Linked DNA regions of Homo sapiens: region 1 is linked to region 2. Evidence: promoter capture Hi-C in human tissues and cell types (Jung and others, 2019). All regions are on one chromosome and are shown on one strand. Each heading gives the region's core, a stretch centred on a gene start or on the middle of the fragment in contact. The rest is flanking DNA. Distances are from core to core; before and after follow the strand shown.

Region 1 (6,847 bases), core at 2,408-4,907, 380 kb before region 2:
ATAAGGGTAAATTTGTACTTTCTTCAGAGCTATTCCAGGACTCTAGAATTTTCTCTAGTCCTTACTCTGTCCTTTCTTTAATCTCTTCCAGAGCCAGAGTCTTCCCCTCTCTGCAGCCCCATCTCGAGGTGTCCTCTCTCCTCCTCTTCTCACCTCCTTCTTTGAGCTCCATGCCTTTCCTTGCCTTGCAGCTCAGACCTTGTTGCTCCCTGTTCTTTGCTTCCCCGAAGAAGAAAGTCTCTCAGCCCCCACACTCCTCATAGAGGTGTCTATGGCCCCGGTGGGGGCTGTCCGGTGAAGTCAGAGCGCGACGGAGCCTGCCTGTGCGTGATTCGTGGCTGCTGAGACTTGATACCAGCAGAGGGGCTTTGCCCTGCCATGTGTTCACTAGCCGCTCAGCCTATTCCCAGGCCCCTCATCTCCAAGACCAGCAGCCCCGCTTCTGTGTGGGTGGTAGTGATCCAGGTGGTGTGAAGTGCAGGCAGCTCCACCAGAGGTCAGCCCTTAAGCCCTGCAACAGCCTGCGGCAGAGCCAGGAGGACTCTTGCAGGCAGGGAGCTGATGGAGGGATGGGCCCAGCGCCTTCTGGGTCCGTGCAGGGGGCGGGGCAGGGAGAGGATGGTGGCAGGACCAGGACCTGCCCCGGCACTCCCAGTGCTCTCTGCTGGGCCCTTCTGCCCGTTGCCTTCCTCCCACCCTAGGCAGAGCCCGAACCTCCACCCAGCCCCACCTGCTTTGGGTCCTTCTTGGGATCTGATTCCAGACTCTTTTGGGCTTTATCCAGCACACTTTCACTCACTTCCACCACCTCCTCTATGCCGCAAAGGAAACGCCACCTTCGATGTGTTTGAGTTATGTAAATTAAAATAGTGTGATATAGGAAAGATTTTAAAAACCTCACTCTAAATGAGATGGATCTTCTCCAAACTAAGAAAAACAGTCACTGAGAATTGCATTCTATAATTTCAAAGCTTGCAAGCACAGCCAATTCTGACTCGTCTTCGTGCTGTCGTCATATGCTAGGGATACTTCCACTGAAAAGAAATTCCTACCCAGCTTTTAAAAGAATAATATGAAGCACGTGGCTGTTCGTTTGCATCTGAACTTCTGTGAGCAACCATTGTCGTGCAATTTTAACATCGTTATTATCTCCTATGGGAACGTCATCTAAGCCATCGAGAAGTGGTGGTACCGTTGCTGTGTGACAATCTGTGTCCTTAAATCAGAAGTCAGTGGTGACAGGCCGGGCACGGTGGCTCAGACCTATAATCCCAGCACTTTGGGAGGCCGAGGCAGGCAGATCACCTGAGGTCAAGAGTTCGACACCAGCCTGGCCAACACGGTGAAACCCCATCTCTACTAAAAATACAAAAGTTAGTCAGGCATGGTGGCGGGCGCCTATAATCCCAGCTACTTGGGAGGCCGAGGCAGGAGAATCGCTTGAACCTGGGAGGCAGAGATTGTGGTGGGCCAAGATTGTGCCATTGCACTCCAGCCTGGGTGACAAGAGTGAAACTCCATCTCAAAAAACAAACAAAAAACCAAAAAAACACAAAAAAGTCAATGGTGAGGAGGCCAAAGAAGCACTATTATACTACTTGCTATTTTAGAAGAGGCCACTGAAAAACATTAAGAATGATGCGGAGGAAAAAAATCAAAGTAGTATGGAGGTAGTTGAAGCCTTATGTTAAAATATTATATAACAAAGCAAGGGTAATAAAAAATAAAAGTGTTGGCTACATGGTGAAGACACCCTTTCCTGAGTCAGATCTGAGATCTCACTGGTTATGGAGAATCTGCTCACGGTTGTAGAGGAAAGAAACCTAAAAGAAAGTAGAAAGGCTAAGCTGACTTAGAACGCAGAAAAAGCAAAGCAGAGAAGAAACAGAAAAAGCAAATGGGTAGGCTTCAGAAAAGTTTAGGGGCTTGTAGAGAGGGAGAAAAAAGAAAAGAAGAAAAGGAATTTTAAAAGGATTACTGTCGTGTGTGAAATATATGTCATTTAACTTTCTTAGAGACATGACTGTGATTGGCATTACAGTTACTTCGCATGCTTTGGATGACACCATGGTGAGAATGGGCCACGTGGACCATTGAGATATATTTGGATTTCACATGGCAGAGAAAATCAGCTGAATGATAATTAATGACGCATCTGTTTTTGAAAGTCTATTGTTTTATATTGAGCTATGTAAATTTGATATAGGAAAGATTCATGAAATCTCACTCCAAATGACATGGATTCTCTCCAAACTAAGAAAAAAAATCACCAAGAATAGCATACTGTAATTTCAAAGCTTGCAAGCGGCTTTGAAATTTTAAAATATTCATATAATTTTTTAAAGGATGGGTAGGAATTTCTGTACACAGTGGAACTATTCCTGCCATATGACAATAGCATAAAGACAAGCTAGAATGGACTCTGCTTGCAAGCTTTGAAATTACAGTATGCAATTCTCAGTGATTCTTCTTCCTAGTTTGGAGAAGATCCATCTCATTTGGAGTGAGATTTTATTAATCTTTCCTATATCACACTATTTTTAATTTACATAACTCAAACAAAGAAGGGTACCGTGTGGGTGGCATTTCGTTTGCAGCATAGAGGAGGTGGTGGAAGTGAGTCCTTCTGTGACTTGACCAGAGATGTGAGCATGAGAAAGTATTGGCTGAGCCTGGTTCTCTGGTCTGAGACTCAGGGACATTCAGCTCAGTCCCCTTCCACCCGCACACCCCCACCTGATGCTGCTGTCATCGTGCCTCATCTGGCCACATCTCTCATCTTTGGCTCTGCACTCAAGGTCATCCATAATGCGAAGCCACCTCTCCAGCCATGCCTTAGCTCCCACTTTTCCTGAAAGTGAAGCTCTGCCTCTCTCACCCCGTGGTCCTTCCCGATGCTCCCATCCTGCAGGCCAAGCCATCCTCTCCCCCACGACTTGCCCCTGCTCCTCTGCTTCCAGCCCCTGCAGTTTTTGTGTTCACTGCAGACTCTGGGGCCTCCAAGAGTTTGTTTCAAACACCTTCTTTTTTTTCCTTTCATTCCTTGGATCTGCTTACCACGATCTCAGCCTTTAATTGTTGGTGCCTCCTGGGCAGCAGCCCTTAGTTGTGTGTTGTTTATATCCTTCCCTCATCGACCAGTGCTTGATACATTCTAAATTATTTCAAATTAATTTGTAAAACCCACAATTATTATCATTTCACTCATATTCCAGGTCAATTTTGACAAAGGTTTCATAGATTTTCATTGAAAATGACATATATCTTAGGAAGAGTTAATACAAAGGTGAAGTTTATGTCAATATATATTTTATTTTTTTCAAAATTATAGTATGAAGTTTTTTCTGGAGAAGGACAAATTTTATTGAATTCCTACACAGGAGTTTCTCTTCTCCTTATCAAATGGTACAGGAATTAAGCATGAAAGGTTAATTCACACAGTCTTAGAACTCTCTCTTCCCTACCTTCTTTCTGCAAAACCAGAAAAAAAAAGCCTGTTTTCAGTCAATAGCTATTTTATTACTCTGTTTGTTAAATAATTTAACTTTATTTGCAATACTATACCTCCCCCTGGTGGAAATAAACAGGCTGTAACAATTACAATCTTTCTTTTTCTGAATCCATTGCAGCGGATTGTGAAAAGACGAGGAAGGAAACAGTAGCTTGTTTATTTCCAGTCCGTTCATCCCAAACTAGTAATTCCATCTCCATTGGTTCTGTATCTGAAATTTCTTTTTATTCTTTATTTTCCTCCCTAACTTATGATGTTGTATATGGTCTTGCAACTTAAATTCTTTTGTAATGTTATTCAAATGAAAATTCATAGATTTTCCAAAGTACTTTATTTCCTAAGCTTTCATGTATTAATTAATAATGCTTTTACCTTTATGGGCCAATTTTAGACATATAGCCCATCAGTCTGAGCTGATAAGCATAATTGAATAGTGCCTTTGCCTGAAGTAATTTCAGAGAAAGCTAAGAAGCCTGCTGCTTTAGAAATATTTGGGGTGTTTTTATTAAGAAAATAAGCAAAAAAGCCTAGTGGAATACTATCTTTTAAACCTTTATACTTGTAGAGAACAAATCATTTTGTTTAATTGATTTGTTCTAGAGGTGACAAAACTGAGGACCTTACCTGAGATGACAAAGATAGTTAAGTGGTGGGACTGTGATCAAAATGTATTAATGGATTGAAAGTCAGGAAGCTGTCTCCTCGCTTGAAACTTAGTGGGCAACCACTAACGACTAAGGAATAGATTGAATGCCTGGGGATCAGTTTTACATGGGGAAGTGAATCACAGTTTCCTAGAGTAAATGGAATAACAAAAAAGAAATATCAAGGTGACTGAAAAAAAAAGCATAAAATCTGACACGTAATAAGTGCTATTTATTAAAAGGCAAAGGCTTCCATCTTCTATTAGAATACAAAACCACAATAGACTGCTGATTAAAAGAGAAGTTACAATTAAATAACATTAAAAGTTTATTCTATATGGAAAGCATGACAGGCAACGGTGAACAAAACAGATAAATGTTTGGATGGTTTGGCAAAGACGATAAGAAACAAAGTGGTAAGGTGGTAACTCTCCCTGCTATTATGGTCTCTGGAGTTTCTCCACTCCTATTTTTTCCAGGCTACCAAACTACTAGCGAGAGAAAGAAATTTTATGACAGCAATGGCTAGAAAAAATACTTGAGACAAAATTGGACATTTAAATTTATAGAAAGTGCCATCTACAGCTTTAAAAATACATAAAGCAAAAACTGAAATACAAGGAGTAATTAACAGAAGCATGAAAGCAGTAGAAGTATGTGTATATACAAATACACACGCACATACTCACAACGCCAACATTCTATATTCCAATCAGGCATGTAAAAAGTGAGGCCATAAAAGCTTTGTAAAATATCTCTAATTGAGACAAATCAAGTGTCTGCTTTCAGACATAATGGAGTGACTTAAATTGGACTAACTTTCATGCCAAGAAAAAATCCTATAAAAGCTGAATAAAATGTACAAAATGACTGTGTGAAGCAGTGGGCAGCAACTAATGTAGACAGTACTGAAAGGCACAATTGTGAGAGTGAGAGAAGGGAAGCACACAAGATAATTTCTTTTTTTTCTTTTCTGGTATTCTTTTTTTTTCTCTCTTTTTTTTATTATACTTTAAGTTCTAGGGTACATGTGCACAACGTGCAGGTTTGTTACATATGTATACATGTGCCATGTTGGTGTGCTGCACCCATTAACTTGTCATTTACATTAGGTATATCTCCTAATGCTATCCCTCCCCCCTCCCCCCACTCCACAACAGGCCCCGGTGTGTGATGTTCCCCTTCCTGTGTCCATGTGTTCTCATTGTTCAATTCCCACCTATGAGTGAGAACATGCGATGTTTGGTTTTTTGTCCTTGCAATAGTTTGCTGATAATGATAGTTTCCAGCTTCATCCATGTCCCTACAAAGGACATGAACTCATCATTTTTTATGGCTGCATAGTATTCCATGGTGTGTATGTGCCACACTTTCTTAATCCAGTCTATCATTGTTGGACATTTGGGTTGGTTCCAGGTCTTTGCTATTGCGAATAGTGCTCACACAAGATAATGTCTACATTAACCCTGGTTGTTTTCCCTGTGGGAATTTTTTTAAATCGTTGCATGAGGAATAGAGACCACCTCTAACAAAGCTGAAAATCAAGCCTCCATGGGACCCAAGGTGATTCACTGATAGAGAACTGCCTGACAGGAAGAAAAAAACTTTCTTTGAAGAAAAACATCATTATCGGAGCCTCTACAATTTTTATCTACAATGAGCAAAATAAAATATAAAAATTAAAGGTTATGGTAAAAAAGACAGGACCAAGAGAAACAAACGTTAAGAAAAATGTAAACATTATATATAGTCTCACAGGTGATTTAGATATTGGAGTTATCAAAGAGAAATTTTAAAAATTGATTAGCCATTCAAGAAAATAAAGGATGGCATGGAAAAACAAGAGAAAATATAGAGAATTTCAACATAATTGAATATATATGAACAAAGCAACTGGGCGGTCTAGAACTGAAAAATACAATATTTGAAATGAAGAATTCATTAGATGAATTTAACAGTACACTGGACATAACAGAAGATGGGGAGGAATAGAATTTATTCAAACTGAAGCAAAGAGAGAAAAATAATGGAATGAACAGTACAGAATATTGTGTACATATACAGAATATTGTGTCCCCAAAGGAGAAGAGGGAAAAGAGCATAAATAATATTTGAAGACAGAATGGCTAAGTATATGTTTTAAAATATAATGAAAGACAACAACCCACAGGTTCAAGAGTCTATGCAAACCCCAAGATAACTAGAATAGGCACATCTTAGTCAAGCTGCTGAAAACCAAAGACAAAATGAAAATCTTAAAAGCAGGCGGGAATAGTGGGAATACTTTACTTTCAAAGGATCAAGAATAAAGCTTACAGCTGACTGTACAACATACTCATGGGAGCAAGTGGAATGACATCTTTAAAGGGCTAGGTATCAGCCAAACTAAAATTTTATAAACATTGAAAATATTAATGAAAATAAAGCAAAATAAGGAATTTTTGACAAATGAAAGCTGAGAAAATTTGTATCCAGTAGACTTGCACTAAAAGAAATACTAAAGATGGAGAATATCTTCATGACTTTGATGTAAGAACCGATTTCTGAAATAGATTTTTAAAAAGACACTAAACCTAATGAACATAATTGATAAATTAAACATAAATTGATGATTGACATTAAGCATTTCTGTTTACCAAAATAGACCTTTAAAAGAATAAAAATGCAATACCAACAAATATAAATGTTTATA
Region 2 (7,227 bases), core at 745-3,244:
CAGGCTAACTTGTTAGCTTACAAGTAGGGGAATAGCTCAGCCCCTGAGCAGCTCTTGATAAGAGCTCATGCCTGTGGGGCGAGGCCAGATGGGAGTCATTGGAGGGTTTTGAGAAAAGGCATGACAAGTCCGGACGTAGGTTTTGTAAGTTTCACCAGGTAGGAAGCAGTGAGCTATTACAATTGTTAGATCTAGTGATGGTCCAGCTAGATGATCCTGACTTCAGCCGAGTGGTGAGAAGTCGTGGGATTCTGGATCCTCTGAAGGTGGAGCTGACACCATTTGGGATATGAGAGAATGATAAGCAAAAAGGACAGCACTGAATTTTTCGCCTAAGCAAATGGTGGCCTGGAGTTGCCGATGACTGGGATGGAGAAGATTTTTAGGAGATGTAGCCGGAAGGGATGGCAGGAGTTCAGCTGGCGACATGCTGGACTTAAACACCAGCTAGGCTTCAGGAAATGTTGAGGATGCAGGTGGATGTGAATTTGTTATTCAGGGGTGAGGTCACAGCTGGAGATACATATGAGCTTCATTAACCTGTGTATGATATTCAAAGCCATAAGACAGGGGCGATCACAGCAAATAGCAAAGAAAAGAGGCCTAACCATAAGCCCTGGGGCCCTCCATATTTAGAGGTTAGGGGAGTAGAAGAAAACCACAAAAGGGACAGTGAAGCCAGAAACACAGCAGGAAGCCCTGGTGAGCACTGGGAGAAGGGGTTTCCAGGAGCGCAAGTGATCAGCTGCTGCTGATAGGTCAGGTTTGGTGAGGCCACATGCCTGCCTCTTGGTTACTAGAGTTACTTATGCGTGGACAGCCCGAGGCATGGAGTGATGACCTGTGCCTAAGTGTCAAGGAGAAGACAAGCAGGTCCGGAATGGTAAAAATGTCAGCACATCTTTGGGAAGTTGTGGAGCCCAGCCAGTAAGCCAACACGGCTGGATACCAGGGTGCTTAGGCCATAGCAAACTGCATGTGAGCCGGTGAAGGCTCAGCAGGCTTTAAACGGGGATGCCGGCCCGGCTGGCTGAGTTTCAGAAAGACCACGCCGATGGCTGGGGGCAGGGACTCAGCCAGTGTCCTCAATCCAGGACCTTGTGGGACCGCCCGGCAGCCAGTGCTTCCGCAAATCTGAAGGGTCCCATTTGCCTCAAAGCGGCGAGACGAGCCTTCCAAGCGCTGCTGCAGTGCGGTCCCAGCTCCGCGGGGGGTCCCCGGGGATGACCTAAATCGGGGATTGCGGTGGGACAGACGGTCCAGGGGCTAAGGAACCCCGTGGAGCAGGCAGCGGCGCTCAGGAGGCAGCAGCTTGAGATCCACGGCTCGATTTTTAAAAATTGTAAGGGAGAAGGATGCCTCGAAAGCCTCTGTGGTATTTTGTCGCATCTCGCACCCCTGTCTAAACTTCAGTCCACTCGTGGAGTGTGGACCCCCACGCCGCATGGGCTCAGGAGGCGCTTCGCCTTTGGAAAGAAATCGCATGTATTAAGGGAAAGCACGTGTGCTACTTTGAGAAAGGAGGCAGAAAGTTACCAAACGCGGGAAGGGGAGGCTCGCCAACCAAGCGAGGCCGTGGGACACTGGCGAGTCGCAGAGGCTCCTGGAGCCAGCCGCTTGGAAACAAACAACAACGCGGCGGGCGAACTCCCGGGCAGCCTCCCCCGTGCCGGGGCGCGGGGGCCGCCGCGAGAACCCGGGCAGGAGCTGGCAGGCGCGGGGCCTGGCCGGCGGGAGGGTCCCGCACCCCGGCCCAGTGTGAACACCCCGCGCACCCCCCTGGCCCGGCCCGCCGGGGGCGCGGACTACAAGTCCCAGGAAGCCCAGAGGCAGGCGCGGGGCGGGGCCTGGCGCAATTCCCCGGGATCCGGCGCGCTGGGAAGCGCCGAGGAGGACGCAGCGCCGGCGGCCGGAGGGCGGCAAGCGCGCGGGCAGGCGGGGCGCGGGCGCGGGCGCGGGCGAGGGCGAAGGCGGGGGCGGGGCCGACGTGGGCCGGAGCCCTGCGTGCCAGGGAGGGGGCCGGCCGGGCAGGCGGCGGGCGGCGCTCGGAGCGGGCTCCGCGGCTTGCAAGGCGCCTGCGACTCGGTCCCAGGTCGGCGGGCGGCGCACGGCGGGCTCGCGCGGGGGCCCCGGCGCGCCGGGCGGCGCAGTACGCAGCGCGCGGACCCACGCCACGGCCAGGAGCCCAGAGCAGCGCGGCCACACTGCCCAGGGGTCGGCCCTCGGCCCCGGCGCTCGGAGCGCGGCGGCTGCCTGGGCTTTAATGGCTGCTCCGCGGAGCAGCGCCTAGGGCTGGAAGGCGGCTGCGGCTCAGGAAGTCACCCGAGCAAGCCTCCTTCGGGGCCGGCCGCACCCGCCGCGGCGCGCTCCATGGGGGCGCGCTCCCCCCGGGCGGCCCGCTGACCCGGGACGCCGGGGCCCGCTCGCTCGCCGGCCGCGCGTCCCGGCCATGAACTGAGCCCGCGGGCCAGCCCCGCGCCTGCTCCGCCCGCGCCTTTCTTCTCGCGCCTCCTCCGCCCGCCGCCGGCGGGCCCGGCTCCCCGGGGGCTGCGGCGCCCCGGGCTCGGCGGCCCGCGGGCCCCGGGGCGCGGGGCGGCGGCGGCGGGGGGCGCGCGGCTCCGGGCGCGGCGCCTGCACCATGAACTACCAGCAGCAGCTGGCCAACTCGGCTGCCATCCGGGCCGAGATCCAGCGCTTCGAGTCGGTCCACCCCAACATCTACTCCATCTACGAGCTGCTGGAGCGCGTGGAGGAGCCGGTGCTGCAGAACCAGATCCGGGAGCACGTCATCGCCATCGAAGGTGAGGGCCGGGCCGCCTTGGGGCCTCGGGAAGGCACGGACGCCCGCGGCGCGGCGGGGGTGTGCGCTGTGTGCGTGCGGGTGTCCACACACGCCGGCCGGGGCACGCGGCTGCTCCGCCGAGGGAGCACTGCGGCGCTGCTTGTCTTGCAAGGCCGGGCGAGCGTCGCCTGCGCCCCGCCGCGCCGCGAGCTCCGCCAGGAAGATAGATCGTCAGCGTTAATTTGATCGTGGACAATAGAGTCTCTCCTGCGGGAAAGTGGCTCGGTGCCTCCGCGTCCTGGGCTGCCGGAGCGTCCCGGCCCAGCAGACGCCTGGGGGCAGCCGGCGGGGTCGGCGCCACCCGACCCCTGACAGGTTACCAGGCCAGGCCTGGGCGTCTTGCTGGACGTTGAAGACGTGTTCTGAGAAGTGCTGCCGCTGGGGGCGAGGCCCGGGCCGGCGTGTTTGGGCGGTGCAGGGCTGCCCTCCTTAGTGTGTTTGCTTAATTCAGGGGTGCAGTTGAACTTAGTGGATGCCGAGAGCCAGCCCTAGCCGCGGGAGCATCGTGTCCAGGTGCCCCTGTGCAAACGCTGGAACCGGTAGTGTGCTTTGTACCAACCAAAAGTCCGGGGTTGGATTAGAGGAAGAACCCTACCAGGAGGGCAGGGCGTCCTCCAGCGGAAGGGTCTCGCTTTCATATGTCTGCAGTTGGAGGCCACTGAAGTGGAGGGTGCTGTGGTTTTAAGAGGGGCAGGATGCTTGGGCAGAATCCCCACCCGCTTCCCTCTGCATGTCAGGCAGGGCCATGGCCTTCCAGGAGAGCTACAGCAGCAGTCTGCCTTCCGGGGCTGTGCCCTCTGGATTTCTGGTGGCTCTCATTTCTCTGTTTCCAGGCTGCTGATTTATTTTCTTGCTTCATCCCTTTGGTCCGGCCAAGACTCACCTGGGGCACCAGGTGGCATGTGCGTGGACAGTGTGGAGTCATATCTTAGCCACAGTTGATCAGCACTTTCTCCCTTCTCAGCGCTGTTGGCCAGTGATGGTAAAAAGCCTGCAGAGTGGCTTGTCCATAATACAGACTGGCCGGTAAGACCTCTATTGAGGAACATTGAGAATGGCCCAAAGCCGGCAGGAATGTGCCTGAAAGCCTGGTGCTGGCGTTGCCCAGCCTCCTCCCTCTGTGAGGGAGAGGGTATCAGCCCACAGAGAGGCTTTGCCTTGGCACTATGTAGTCTGAACTACTAACCCCGAAGTGCTTTGGTTTGAAACTTGGCCAGTTAGGTGGAGAAAGTGGATGTTGTGTTGCTGAGCCCTTGGCATTTGGCAGCCCTGTAGACTTGAACCATGTCCCAGCCAGGCTGGATGACTGGCAGACTATACCCTTGGGGGACTTGTTAATTCCAGGGGAGGATCCGGGTGGAGCTCCAGCCTTATGGGGTCCTAGCCCTTTGTGTGTATCTGTCTCCCATGAGGTCACCTGGCTGCCTTGTTGGTGACTTAAGATGCTCTGTGGATTCCTCAAGAGATGGGCTCTGTCTGCCTCTGCATGACTCGTGATGAGTGGCGGTGGGACCTGGACCCATCTGCTGATGATCAGGTGGTGTTGCAGCAAGGTTCCTCCAGAGCTCCAGCTCTGCGTCTGTTACGGGAGCTGTGAAGGCTGCACGGTGCTCATTTCAGATGGTTCTTCCTGGCTCTCTGGCTGCATCCACAGAAGTCTGATGAAACACTGTGAAAGCCGGCGTCAGGTATTGAAGGCACCTGGCTGAGAGCCTCTTTTGCTGCATGAAGACCTCTGGCTGAGTGGGGTTCACAACACCTCGTTTTTATTTCCCATTCTTGAAGCTGAGCTCTGGGGCTCAAGCACTTCCAGCAAAGCAGTTTGACTTTCTAGCAAGAGGATGTGGTTGCATTTTCCTTTCTCCCTTAAAAGAAAAAAAAAATGCGTCGTTCCTAGATGATGGTTTTTTTTGACAGCACGATGCCTACCTTTGCGATTTGAGATTTTAGGCCCCTTCTTGGCCGGGATCCTTGTCATTTTTAATAAGGCTTAGAATCATTGGGTGAATCCTGTTTGGGACTGGGGTGATGCTGTTATTTTTCTCTTAGAAATAGGGATGTCTACATTATGTGGAGCTGTAGTTAATTTAGTGAGGCTTAAGAACCACTCAGACATGCTGCTGTTCTTTGCATGTTCTTCTGTTATCAATAATGATACCACTTTTCATTTCTGTAGAACTTTAACAGAAATATTTTTGCATGTATAGTCTCATTGTGTGGCTTCACCAACCCTGTGAGGGTGGGTGGGTAGCTTCCTCATCCTCATTTTATGGAGGAGCGGGTGGAGGTTCAGGGAGGGATAATGACCTCCTTAACATTTGACTGAGGTGGTTTGAAGTCTGATCTGAACCAAGGGATCATTTGAATGGAGTTTCTGTCTCCACACTGCATGTGGATGGCAGGAACCCAGTGCTGGCAACTAAGCCTGCGCTGGAACATCACAGTAACTGCAGAGGGCTCCCTGCAGGGGCAGAGAGCTGCCCCTGCCTGTGCGTGCACCTTGGAGGTTTTAAAGTCTAACTGTTTCCAATCAGGACAGCAGGTGCACATCATAACAAATGGCTCAAAAAGTCACTTGTCCCACCAAATAGAAAGCTGGCCACATTTTAGAAGATTTCCAGCTAGGGATTTTTTCCCCTTCCTCTGTATGTGCATACACAGAATTGGGGTCTGACTTCCCAAGCTTCTGGACTACCGTGATGTGGGCACTTCTTTTTTTGTTTTGAGACGGAGTCTCGCTCTGTCGCCCAGGCTGGAGTGCAGCGGCGCAATCTCGGCTCACTGCAGGCTCCGCCCCGGGTTCACGCCATTCTCCTGCCTCAGCCTCCCGAGTAGCTGGGACTACAGGCGCCCACCACCTCGCCTGGCTAATTTTTTCTGTTTTTTTAGTAGAGACGGGGTTTCATTGTGTTAGCCGGTATGGTCTCCGTCTCCTAACCTCGTGATCCACCCACCTTGGCCTCCCAAAGTGCTGGGATTACAGGTGTGAGCCACCGTGCCCGGCCGGGCACTTCTTAACGTTATGAAGAGCTTTTGAAGATAGGGTTTCTCTTGTTGGCACAAAATTCCCACATTTGGCTGCACCCTACTCAAAACTTCACTGTTTTCTGGCATCTTCAGGAATTTTTGCTGTTGGAGTGAGGTGCAGCCTTGTCCAGGGGAAGGATGTTTTGGCTAATGCTTATTTCAGAGCGCGTGGAGGTGGGTCTGGGTTGTAAAATCTCTTAACGATGGACTAAACATATTTTAGTTGAAAGGCCCACCAAGGCTCCCAAATAAAAACACATCCGTAATCCTGTTTGTAGGCATGGGATACAGGTGATTTTGCCCTCAGTCTTGTTTTAAAACACTAGCTTGTCAGAAGAGAACAGTTTTTTTCCCCCAATTTTTGTTTTGTACATTGAGAGGTTTATTCCCCCCTCCCTTCACCCCCAAATCACTAGAGTTTAAGGAAGCATTGCTGATTGTTCCAGATTTATCTGATCAGGTTTCTGGGATGTCCTATGGGGCATGGCATGCTGTGAAATGTAGCCACACAGCTGTGTCGTCTCTGGAGCCTCCGCAGCCACCATGCCCAGAAATGAGCCTGAGAGCCATCTCGCCTCCAGTCTGAACAGCGTGTGTTAGTTTCCCCTCTGGTTCTCCTTAGAAAAGTCCATCGGGGGTTGATGGCATTGAGGTAGATGAATTAACTGCCTTTCTTGTTCAATAAAGCTTGTTCTTCTTTCAAGGATAAAGCCTCTCTTAGCAGTCACACATCGTAATTCAGCTTGCCAGCAGCAGGACCGTGATGTGAGTGATAGCCCAGCCAGCTCATTCAGCCAGGCGGCCCGATTCCCAGGTTCCCACGCATCGCCGGGAAGGTTGGCCTTCCTCTGAGGTTGAGCCCTCATCCAGCCCACAAGCCTCCATCCCCACCAGGTGGCCGATGAGAGGAAACCCAGGCTCTCCACTGGCCTGGCACTTGGCAGGAGAACCCTGCCCTGCACTTCTTAAGGGCATTTCCACAGGGAGATTCCAGGACCCCTTAGTAGTATCTCAGCCCCAGTGTTTGGGGGACCTGGGAAGATGGGTCAGGGTTCCCCACTTTGTCCCATGATACAGCTGCTCTGTTGAGCATGTGTGTCCCACAGAGTGCGGAGTGTCTGAGGTGCATCATCTCAGTTCGTCCTGCAGCGATCTTGTACACAGACGCACTGCTGAGGCCAGAAAGCTTAGGACACTTGTGCGAGAGCGGTGAGCTGGGCCCGTCCGACCTCACCTCTGGCCCTCTGTCGCCGTGTGAGATTGCGGAGCCCCTGTTATTCATACTTCCCATAGGCCGTGTGTGCAAAGCATCCCAAGCTTGTTTCCGCCACCCAAGGCAAGAGGGTTTGAGAAGGCCC

What was found. The method cuts DNA at HindIII sites, captures the fragments that hold promoters and counts their contacts. A contact is called where the count stands out against the background at its distance.
Region 1: a fragment that was not itself captured here is called in contact with the fragment with the promoter of AGAP1 in region 2 in 3 of the 25 tissues and cell types used here (dorsolateral prefrontal cortex, heart right ventricle and mesenchymal stem cells).

Annotation. Positions count from the first base shown.
Region 1 is chr2:235,113,524-235,120,370 of GRCh38, forward strand. No RefSeq gene overlaps it. Among named protein-coding and RNA genes, the nearest start is that of SH3BP4, 160 kb to the left of the region's middle. RefSeq lists an enhancer at 508-1,055. The HindIII fragment of the contact is 4,047 bases long and covers 1,635-5,681 here.
Region 2 is chr2:235,492,049-235,499,275 of GRCh38, forward strand. It overlaps AGAP1 (ArfGAP with GTPase domain, ankyrin repeat and PH domain 1), which reads left to right and starts at 1,995. Exons shown (of 18, transcript NM_001037131.3): 1 at 1,995-2,801. The coding sequence starts at 2,639. RefSeq lists an enhancer at 3,249-4,122. The HindIII fragment of the contact is 11,360 bases long and covers 1-6,040 here.